Linked DNA regions of Homo sapiens: all the other regions are linked to region 2. Evidence: promoter capture Hi-C in human tissues and cell types (Jung and others, 2019). All regions are on one chromosome and are shown on one strand. The core of a region is centred on a gene start or on the middle of the fragment in contact, and the rest is flanking DNA. Distances in the headings are between cores, read along the strand shown. Region 1 overlaps ETFA (electron transfer flavoprotein subunit alpha). Region 2 holds the start of RCN2 (reticulocalbin 2). Region 3 overlaps LOC101929457 (a long non-coding RNA gene).

Region 1 (2,801 bases), core at 19-2,518, 690 kb before region 2:
AAGATATAATTAAAACTCCTAGTTTTTTGGCAATTAAGTTTTTAACTATTGTACAACCAAATAATTTATATATACAAACCACAGTTTATAAATTCTACAACTTCTTCTTTGTCGTTTTAAACTTCACTGTATGGGCTTTGATAATCCAGGCCATGTAATTACCTTTAAGAAGCATGCTTAGGGTTTTTTCTGGAGTACAGGTCCATACAGCATTTCTCTCTGTCCTCTTGGGAACAAAACATCAATTGCTTTCAGCTAAATGCACTCACATATGAATATTTTAGTACAATTTAATGCTTCTATACCAACCCCAAAGGAACAGAGCATCAATTTGTGAACACAGTTCTCTTGGAGTTAAAAGCCAAGCTAGATAAAGCACTATGAAAGCAGCTGTCAATCTTCAGCTTTTTAGCAAGTTAGAAAGGCAGCCCATAAATTCAGTCCTAGCTGTATACAAGTAAGTCTATAAAGTTTGTTCCTACACAGACTTTTCAACAATAGTGAATTTTCAAAAGAGAACCCAGAAACAAAATTTATTATCTTGATACATTTTTCAAAAACTGCTTATTCACCTGGTAACTTTAAACTGACTTCTATTCACTTAGTCTCACCATTATGAATGGACAGTTGGTCTGTTAGTAAAATACCAAAATATACACAAAATAATCTACTCCCACTAAGAAGTTGCACTAAGCGTAAGAACACATTTCCCTGGCATTAGAAAACAGATTCTTTAATAATTGCAATATGCTTATATGTTCAGGTGGTTAGGAAGGTAAGGTCAGCACCATCAAAAAAGCTAATAGAAGGCAATCTAGAAATAAGTATTAAATGGAAACTACCACCAAATACGCCAACCTTTAAAAGGCCATAGAAATTAAATGCTAGTTGTAGCGTAAATCTGAGACTCTATTAAGTTCAACAAATATTAATGTGCTAACAAAATCCAGTAAGTGTGTCAAACCTCAGGTAAAGAAATAAGAATTCAATACCTGTTCATAATTTCAAAACAAAATAAAACAAAATCTCTTAGAAAACAAGGATTTATGACAGTACTGTAAAAATGGCTAATACACAGCACTTACTATATACCAGGCACAGTTTTTAAGTGTTATATAAATATTAACTCATTTAAGCCTGTTTTACATATTAATCTTTAAAATCATTTAATCTTTAATACTACAGTATGAAGTATGAATTATTATTATCACCATTGTATAGTTGAGAAAACTGTGCTACAGAGGGGTTAAGTGATTTGTCCAAAGTCACACAGCCAGCAAGTGGCAACACCAAGGGCTGAATCCTGGCAACCTGGCTAGAAAGTCTGGATTCTTAACTATTCTATGACACTGCCTATTGTAGGGAACTTTTTAAAATCTGATAAAGGGTATCCACTAAAAACAGACAGCCAACATAATACCTATGGTGAAACAATGGAGTAATTTCCTTGAAATGAAGGACAAGGATGTTTATCCTCACCACTTCCGTTCAACAATGCCACAGCTAACACAATAAGAAAAGAAAATTGGTTGGGCACGGTGGCTCACACCTGTAATCCCAGCACTTTGGGAGGCTGAGGCAGGCAGATCACGAGGTCAGGAGATTGAGACCATTCTGGCTAACATGGTGAAATCCTGTCTCTACTAAAAATACAAAAAAAATTAGCCGGGCGTGGTGGCAGGCACCTGTAGTCCCAGCTACTCGGGAGGCTGAGGCAGGAGAATGGCATGAACCCGGGAGGTGGAGCTTGCAGTGAGCCGAGATCATGCCACTGCACTCCAGCCTGGGCTACGGAGCCAAGACTCCGTCTCAAAAAAAAAAAAGAAAAGAAAATTAAATAAAAAGATGAAGCAAAATTTCATTATTCATTATTCCCAGAAGATATGTCTGTGTATGTACAACATCCAAGAAAATCTACAGATAAATTAGTAAGAGCAGTATATAAATATCAATTGCATTCCTATATATCTACATACTTTTATAACAAAAATTATGAAACTGCCTAAACAAGTGGAGAAATAAAATCATGGTCACAGATAGAAGATCAAATGTTGCAAAGATTTTGACTCTTTCCAAATTAATCTATACATCCAATGTTCCTCACTTGAAGAATTTTCGCTATCTGAGTATTTGTTACAATATGTACTTTTTAAACCCAGGAGTCACTATTCAAATTTAAAAAAACAACTATCAAGGATTTGTAGGAGTGCACATTTAAGGTGCTTATGAATCTAAGAGAGACCATCCAGTCTACTCAGCAGCTGTATCTCAGCTATTTTCCTGACAGGACCATATCTTATGCTCACATTCTATAACCACGAGCAAAAGGAACACAAGGAGACATACATTTTTTTAGATTTTTTTTCATCTAAGACTGCAGACAATGGTTCACAGCCATCTATTTCTGGACCTCAGGAGTGGAGAAAACTGTCCATCACTTCTTAGGATCCAATAGTAAGCTCCTTTGCTAGAATCTTTCCATACATTTTGACTCACCACTGAACCGCAACCATGATAACAGCCCCTTCTCCCACTTCTCACCACCAAATCTAACTCAGGCAACTCTTTAATCAGTACATTTTTTTTTACGTGGTCTTGGTTATTCACTAAGAGTTATTTGCATTCATCATGTATCTTTAACATATTTTCTCATTGCTTATTTACATTATGGTACGTGTTTGGAGCAGTGTAGAAGAAATAACTGATACTGTACAGTTTCCACACTATTCTGTCCAAAAACATACCAAATAATGAGTGTAATAAGTGTTAAGTAACTGGTGTTTTACATGCATAATGCAGAT
Region 2 (2,940 bases), core at 415-2,914:
GGGACCACTTAGGAACCCAAAGATCTCAAATTAAGATCCACTGAGATAACACAATCCTTTTCCTCCAGATGAAAGCAATAGACCCAGGGAGCGAAAACAGCCTGTTTAGGGGCTGAAGACAGAACCCAGCCTTCTGATACTGCTTACTCCACTGTCTCTTTAGATATCATTAAGTTCCCTTGGCCCCCAAAACTCCCATCTGTGGATCCCCTGAGTTTAGAAGAACTTCCACAGTACCTTGTAGCCTACCTTTTATAACTGGAGTCACGCCGGAAGCTGGTCAAAGTTTACCTTTTACTTATTGGAGAACAACAGGTACAAAGCAGAGTTTCTTATATTAAATTGGGACATTTTTCTCTTTTTTTCCTCAAAACCGAGAATGGAAGTGAAAATTAAAATCCAGCAATAAAGGGTTTTCTTTTTAGTTTAATGAAATCAACTCTAAAATTTGCTTTTATTTATATTCTGAAATTTAAAACTTTGTTCTTCGTTGATCTTTATAACATTGGAAAGATTGAACTTACACTTTGCTCTGTGAATCTTTCAATGGTTTGTGACCAAACCATAAATTTCAACCCGACCCAGGAAATTTCTGCGACTTGTGCCCACCCAGTTTTGCAGTTTGGAACAGAATTCTTGCTCCCAATCCAAATAGAGACTGAGAGAAATGAAAGAGGACCCAGAAAGCCTTTTCTTCTCTGTGAAAGGCCTGATCCTAAGTGGCGCAATCAATAAAGAAAAGGGTTCAAGGTGCAGCCTACAAATTTCTTAGAGTTTAATGTGTTCAGGTTGAGGTGGAGAAATTACATAAACCTGTGAATAGACATGGAATAGAAGCCATGTGTATATGCATTCTGTCCCTAAAGGTTTTGCTAGGTACTTACTAAGCTATTCCTTCTGTGCAATCATCTTTCGTTTTTCTACTTGTATGGATGAAAGCCTACCTTCACTGAACACTTCACCTTATGTGCCAGCTATTGTTCTAAACCCATTACATTATTTAATCTTCACGACAATTCTTTAAGGTAGTCTTATTACTATGCTCATTTTATAGATGAGCAAACAAGTTTTCAGGGGTCAAGAAATTTGAGCAAGTTCACATTAACTTGTAAATCACGAAATTGAGCATCAGATACAAGCATCTGGCTGCACTTCCTGAGTTTGTACGTCCTACTCTCATAAAATAGATACATTGAAGACTGAGAAAGAATACTGTTGGCCGATTCCTCAGGCAATAATTTTTTCGATATTGTATTGTTGTCTCAGAAACCTCCAGCCTCTCTCATTGATGGACGGTAGGAGGGGCACATGGAGTGGACCAGGAGTGGGCAGGAGTGGGGTGGGGGCGTGCTTTTAGAAGCGTTTCGGGGGAACGACAAGGCGCGGGTCGTAGAGGTCTACCCTCTCTGCAGTCCCAGCATGGCTCCTGGAGCTCTCTGGGCGGCCGCTGACCCCGACATCGCGGCGGCCCGCCCCCAGCGCCGCGCTGCCCAATCAGCGGCGCGGCCTGGTGCCCCGCCACTCCGCGCCGGCCATATAGGCCTCCTCCTGGCGCGCCTCCGCACCGCATTGGTGGACCGGCCCCCAGCCCGTCCATGGGCGTTGTGGCCGCCACCGCAGGTTCCGCCTCCCGTTCCCTCCGCCCTCAACGTACGTCGCACCGCCTCTCTGTAGCCGCCCGCGGAGCATCGCAGCCGGCCCGGGCCCCCGCCAGCCTCCCTCCTCGCGTCCCTCGGTGTCCTCCGCGGGCCGGCGCGATGCGGCTGGGCCCGAGGACCGCGGCGTTGGGGCTGCTGCTGCTGTGCGCCGCCGCGGCCGGCGCCGGCAAGGCCGAGGAGCTGCACTACCCGCTGGGCGAGCGCCGCAGCGACTACGACCGCGAGGCGCTGCTGGGCGTCCAGGTGAGGCGGCCAGGCCGGTGCTGGGAGGGCCGGGCCTCGCACCGCGGCTGCCGCGGGCTTTGTCCCGGGACAAAGGGGGGCGGCCGGGCGAGGCCTGGCAGGGGCGGCCTGACAATGGGGGCCGGGCGGCGCGGCACTCGCTCTCTGGGGGTCCTGGGGCCTGGAAAGCCTGAGGAGATAGCACGGCCCAAGAGCTGGATCCCTTCTACCCCTCAGATCATGGAGGGTGTGTAGGGGGTAGGGGCCTTGAAGTGCAGGTGCGGGTCACCCCGAAACCCTTTGGCAAGGGGGTCTTCTAGTAGCCCTGTTTTTCTCCACCATTTTGCCCCACTGATAGTAATGCTTGGCCCTCCTGTGTGTCGCTTCCCCCTAAAGGAAGATGTGGATGAATATGTTAAACTCGGCCACGAAGAGCAGCAAAAAAGACTGCAGGCGATCATAAAGAAAATCGACTTGGACTCAGATGGCTTTCTCACTGAAAGTAAGGACTGCCCTACACGACTAACAATGGAGACAAACACAAATATGTTAAGCAGCGGTGTCTGCTGAATGTATAGATTGCTAGTGTCCCAAGTTGGAAGTCCTGTGAGAAGGAGAAAAGGACATGGAGAATAGGCTTTATACTTACAAATCTTTAGACACTGAGAACCAAGTAAAACTCGGTGCTTTCTCCAGTTATATATAAACATCATTGACCCTGTACTCTATGTGGAAGTCACACCTTGAGACACCCTCTTTCTCACGTGACTTTTGTTAGTGTCAACAATATGATTTATTTTAGAGAAATATGCCCCAAAACTTTAAGGCAGTAAATGATTTATCGCTCTTTTGATATATGCTTCATTTAAATTTTAGGAATTTGCTTCTTTTTTTAAGCAAGTAGAAAAAGACCTGTTGCCTGTGAATTACGTTTATTATAACATTATACCAAAATGTTAGAGCTGGTAGGGGCCTTGGGATCATCTTGTCCACATCACTTTGTAGAGATGAAGAAATGAAGCACAGGGATAAGTGCCTTCTACAAATAAGTGGCAAAGCT
Region 3 (2,918 bases), core at 180-2,679, 600 kb after region 2:
CCTGGAAGGGGCCTGGCCTTCCCCACTGTGCCCTGGCCACGACCCCGGCCCTGGGCAGAAGGGAAGCTGGGAAGAGGCTGCCCTCTGCTCTTGTTCTCCCTGGGGTCTCCTTGGCCTGTCTGCTGGGGGAGCCCCCCCAGTCCCTGAGAATGTGACCCGCTGCTGAGAGGCCTATAAGTCTCCTCCCCATGCGGGCTCTGCAGTGCCCAGGTCTGGGAACCAGAACTTGGATTTGAATTCCAGTTCCTCTGTCTATTGGCTGAGGGACCTGAATTTCCTAGTCTTTAAAACAGACGTATACCACTCCCCGCCTTACAGAGGATAATGGGAGTGAAGTGCCAGGTGAGCTGTGAGGGGCTCAGCCTACACACTAGACTTGAGGCCATTGGCCACCGGCCTGCTCACAGCAACAGCTAGGAAGGGGCTGAAGTCCCATCTTGCCTAGACAGGCCTGCCACCACTAGGGCTGTGGCAGAGGCCCCCAGAAGGTGGGGAGGAGGGCGGTGACAGTGCCAAGCCCTCCCTGCAGAGTTCTTGCCTTCTCTGGGGAGCGCCGAGGCAGTGTGCTGGGGTGCGGGTGGCCTGGTGGGTGGCCCCACTTTGTAAGGCCCATCTTATTCTGTGCTCTCTGTGAGGGGAGCTGATAATTGAGCCATTTCTCAGGGAGATGACCCTGATTTTTATGAATCTGCAGGACGAAGGAAGCAGCGCTGTCCTGCTGGGGAGACTGTGAGAAGGAGGAGATGAAGGGGAAGTTGCTTATCTTCCCAGTCTTTCCACTTGGGAGACTGTTTGGCGTGTGACGAGGGAGGAGAAGCCAATTTGAAGCCTCTTGGAGGAGGAGGTCTCTGCTGTTGCTGTCCCTGGCACAGCCTTGCCCCTCATCCTCTCTGGCCACCTGCCTCCTTAATCCATTTAACGCCTCTTCATCGCTGTTTTTTTTTTTTTTTAATACTTTTCCTGAGCTGGGGCCCCCAGGGCCTCCTTGATGGCGAATGGTCTCGGCAGCCCCTGGGCTGTTCCTGGGAAGGGACAGGCTTCAAGGTCAGGCTGCTGCTGGCTGACCTTGAAAGCTTCCGCAGGCAAGCCCCTGACATGCCTCCACTCTCCAAGCTCAGCGAGCTCCATCACATTAAAAAGCTGTTAAAAGCGCCCGTCTGGTTGGCTGCCTCTGAGGCTCTGCGGCCGGTGGTGGGGAAGGCAGCCTCAGTTCAGGGATGAGCTCCGCTAGAGGCGCGGGTCTGCCCTGGGGACCTAGGCCTGGGAACCGCCTGGCAGTTGCCCACCCCTCCATTCTTACTTGAGGGAAGGCAGTGGGAGGATGACACTTATCCTGAGCCACACAGTAGCCTAAGTGCTTTTAGATGGGTGAGCTCACTTCATCTTTACAGCCGCCCTGTAAAGTAGGGCTATTAGGAACCCCATGTTGCAGTTGGGCTCAGGAAGGTTAAGACACTTCTCTAGGGTCACACAGCGAGTAAACAGATGAGGAGACCCTCAGCCCCTGAACTCACTGGCTCGGGCCTCACCCGAAGGGTTCTCAGTGTCCACCTACCCACTCTGCACATCGTGCCCGGTGTGGGCCTCACCTGTGGTGGCCTTCTCTGGGCCGTGGCTTGCCCTGCACTCATGGGCACAGAAAGCTTCTCCCCTCTGGAGATGACCGGGGCTTTGGCCTCGGTTGCTGTGTGGCCATGGACAAGCCCTTGGGCCTGCCTTTCCTCAGGTCAGGAGTCTGGGAGGGGTGTGGAGAGTAGCGGGTGGTTATGGCTGGGCTTCAGGGCTCTTTATTCAATTCGAAATAAACCTAGCTGTAGGCTTCCATGGTGGCTTCATAGGCCTCCCCAGGCCTTTTGTTTGCCTGCTAATGGTTTCTAGTGCCCCTGCAGGGCCTGGCAGGTTCAAAGCTCACTCAGACTAGCAGCTAGCAGACTCCTAGGCTGGGGAAGGCTATGGACCTTCCTCCTTCACCCAGCCTGGCCCAGTCTCCCTGGGGACACACCACAAGCATGAGGTGGGGTAGGGGCAGCATGGGGTGGCACAGGGTGAGGGTAGGAGAGGTGGAGGAAGAAGACTCCTCCCAGGGGAGGTGAGAGGGCTGGATGCCCCCACTCCCACTCTGCTTCTGGTTGTGATGAGCCCCATGTGACTCCATCATTTGTGAGACCTTCAGATTTGCCCAGGAAGGCCCATCTGCCCATGGGCAATTTTAATGCCAAGGCATGATCTGTTCCTCTCTCTCCACCTTTCCCCCATCATCGCCTCCCACTCTTCTCCCATTCCTCTGCTCCAGCCACACCAGGCTCCCTGCTGTCCACAAGCACCCCAGGCCCACTGCTACCTCAGGCCCTTCGCACAGGCGGCTCCTCTGCTGACAGACTCCTCCCATTGGGTCCACATGGCTGGCTCATTTCCCCAGCTCCTTCAAGTCTCTGCTTGATGTTCATCCTTTTTTTTTCTTTTTTTTTCTGAGATGGAGTCTCACTCTGTCGCCCAGGCTGGAGTGCAGTGGTGCGATCTCGGCTCACTGCAACCTCTGCCACCCGGGTTCAAGCAATTCTCCTGCCTCAGCCTCCCTAGTAGCTGAGATTACAGGCGCATGCCACCACGCCTGGCTAATGTTTGTATTTTTAGTAGAGATGGGGTTTCACCATGTTGGACAGGCTGGTCTCAAACTCCTGACCGCGTGATCCACCCCCCTTGGCCTCCCAAGGCAAGGAGGGTGGAATGTGCTGGAATTACAGGCATGTGCTGCTGCACCCAGCCTGATGTTCATCTTCTCACCAGACCTGCCCTGAACATTCGACTTTAAACCGCCTCCGCCTGGCCCTCCCCATGTCCTGACCCTGCTCTGTTGCATTCCACAGATGTATTGCCTTCTGGCACTTTGTAATTAACTTACTTATGTTGTTTCTCCT

The links. The method cuts DNA at HindIII sites, captures the fragments that hold promoters and counts their contacts. A contact is called where the count stands out against the background at its distance.
Region 1: a fragment that was not itself captured here is called in contact with the fragment with the promoter of RCN2 in region 2 in 1 of the 25 tissues and cell types used here (lymphoblastoid cells).
Region 3: a fragment that was not itself captured here is called in contact with the fragment with the promoter of RCN2 in region 2 in 1 of the 25 tissues and cell types used here (heart left ventricle).

What each region holds. Positions count from the first base shown.
Region 1 is chr15:76,245,023-76,247,823 of GRCh38, forward strand. The region is part of intron 9 of ETFA (electron transfer flavoprotein subunit alpha); the gene reads right to left. Among named protein-coding and RNA genes, the nearest start is that of ETFA, 65 kb to the right of the region's middle. The HindIII fragment of the contact is 3,436 bases long and covers 1-2,801 here.
Region 2 is chr15:76,930,085-76,933,024 of GRCh38, forward strand. It overlaps RCN2 (reticulocalbin 2), which reads left to right and starts at 1,665. Exons shown (of 7, transcript NM_002902.3): 1 at 1,665-1,901; 2 at 2,277-2,382. The coding sequence starts at 1,758. RefSeq lists a silencer at 1,358-2,107. The HindIII fragment of the contact is 23,440 bases long and covers 1-2,940 here.
Region 3 is chr15:77,527,986-77,530,903 of GRCh38, forward strand. All of the region lies in intron 1 of LOC101929457 (a long non-coding RNA gene), which reads left to right. Among named protein-coding and RNA genes, the nearest start is that of LINGO1, 100 kb to the right of the region's middle. RefSeq lists enhancers at 688-1,531, 1,532-2,373, 2,374-2,918. The HindIII fragment of the contact is 4,673 bases long and covers 1-2,918 here.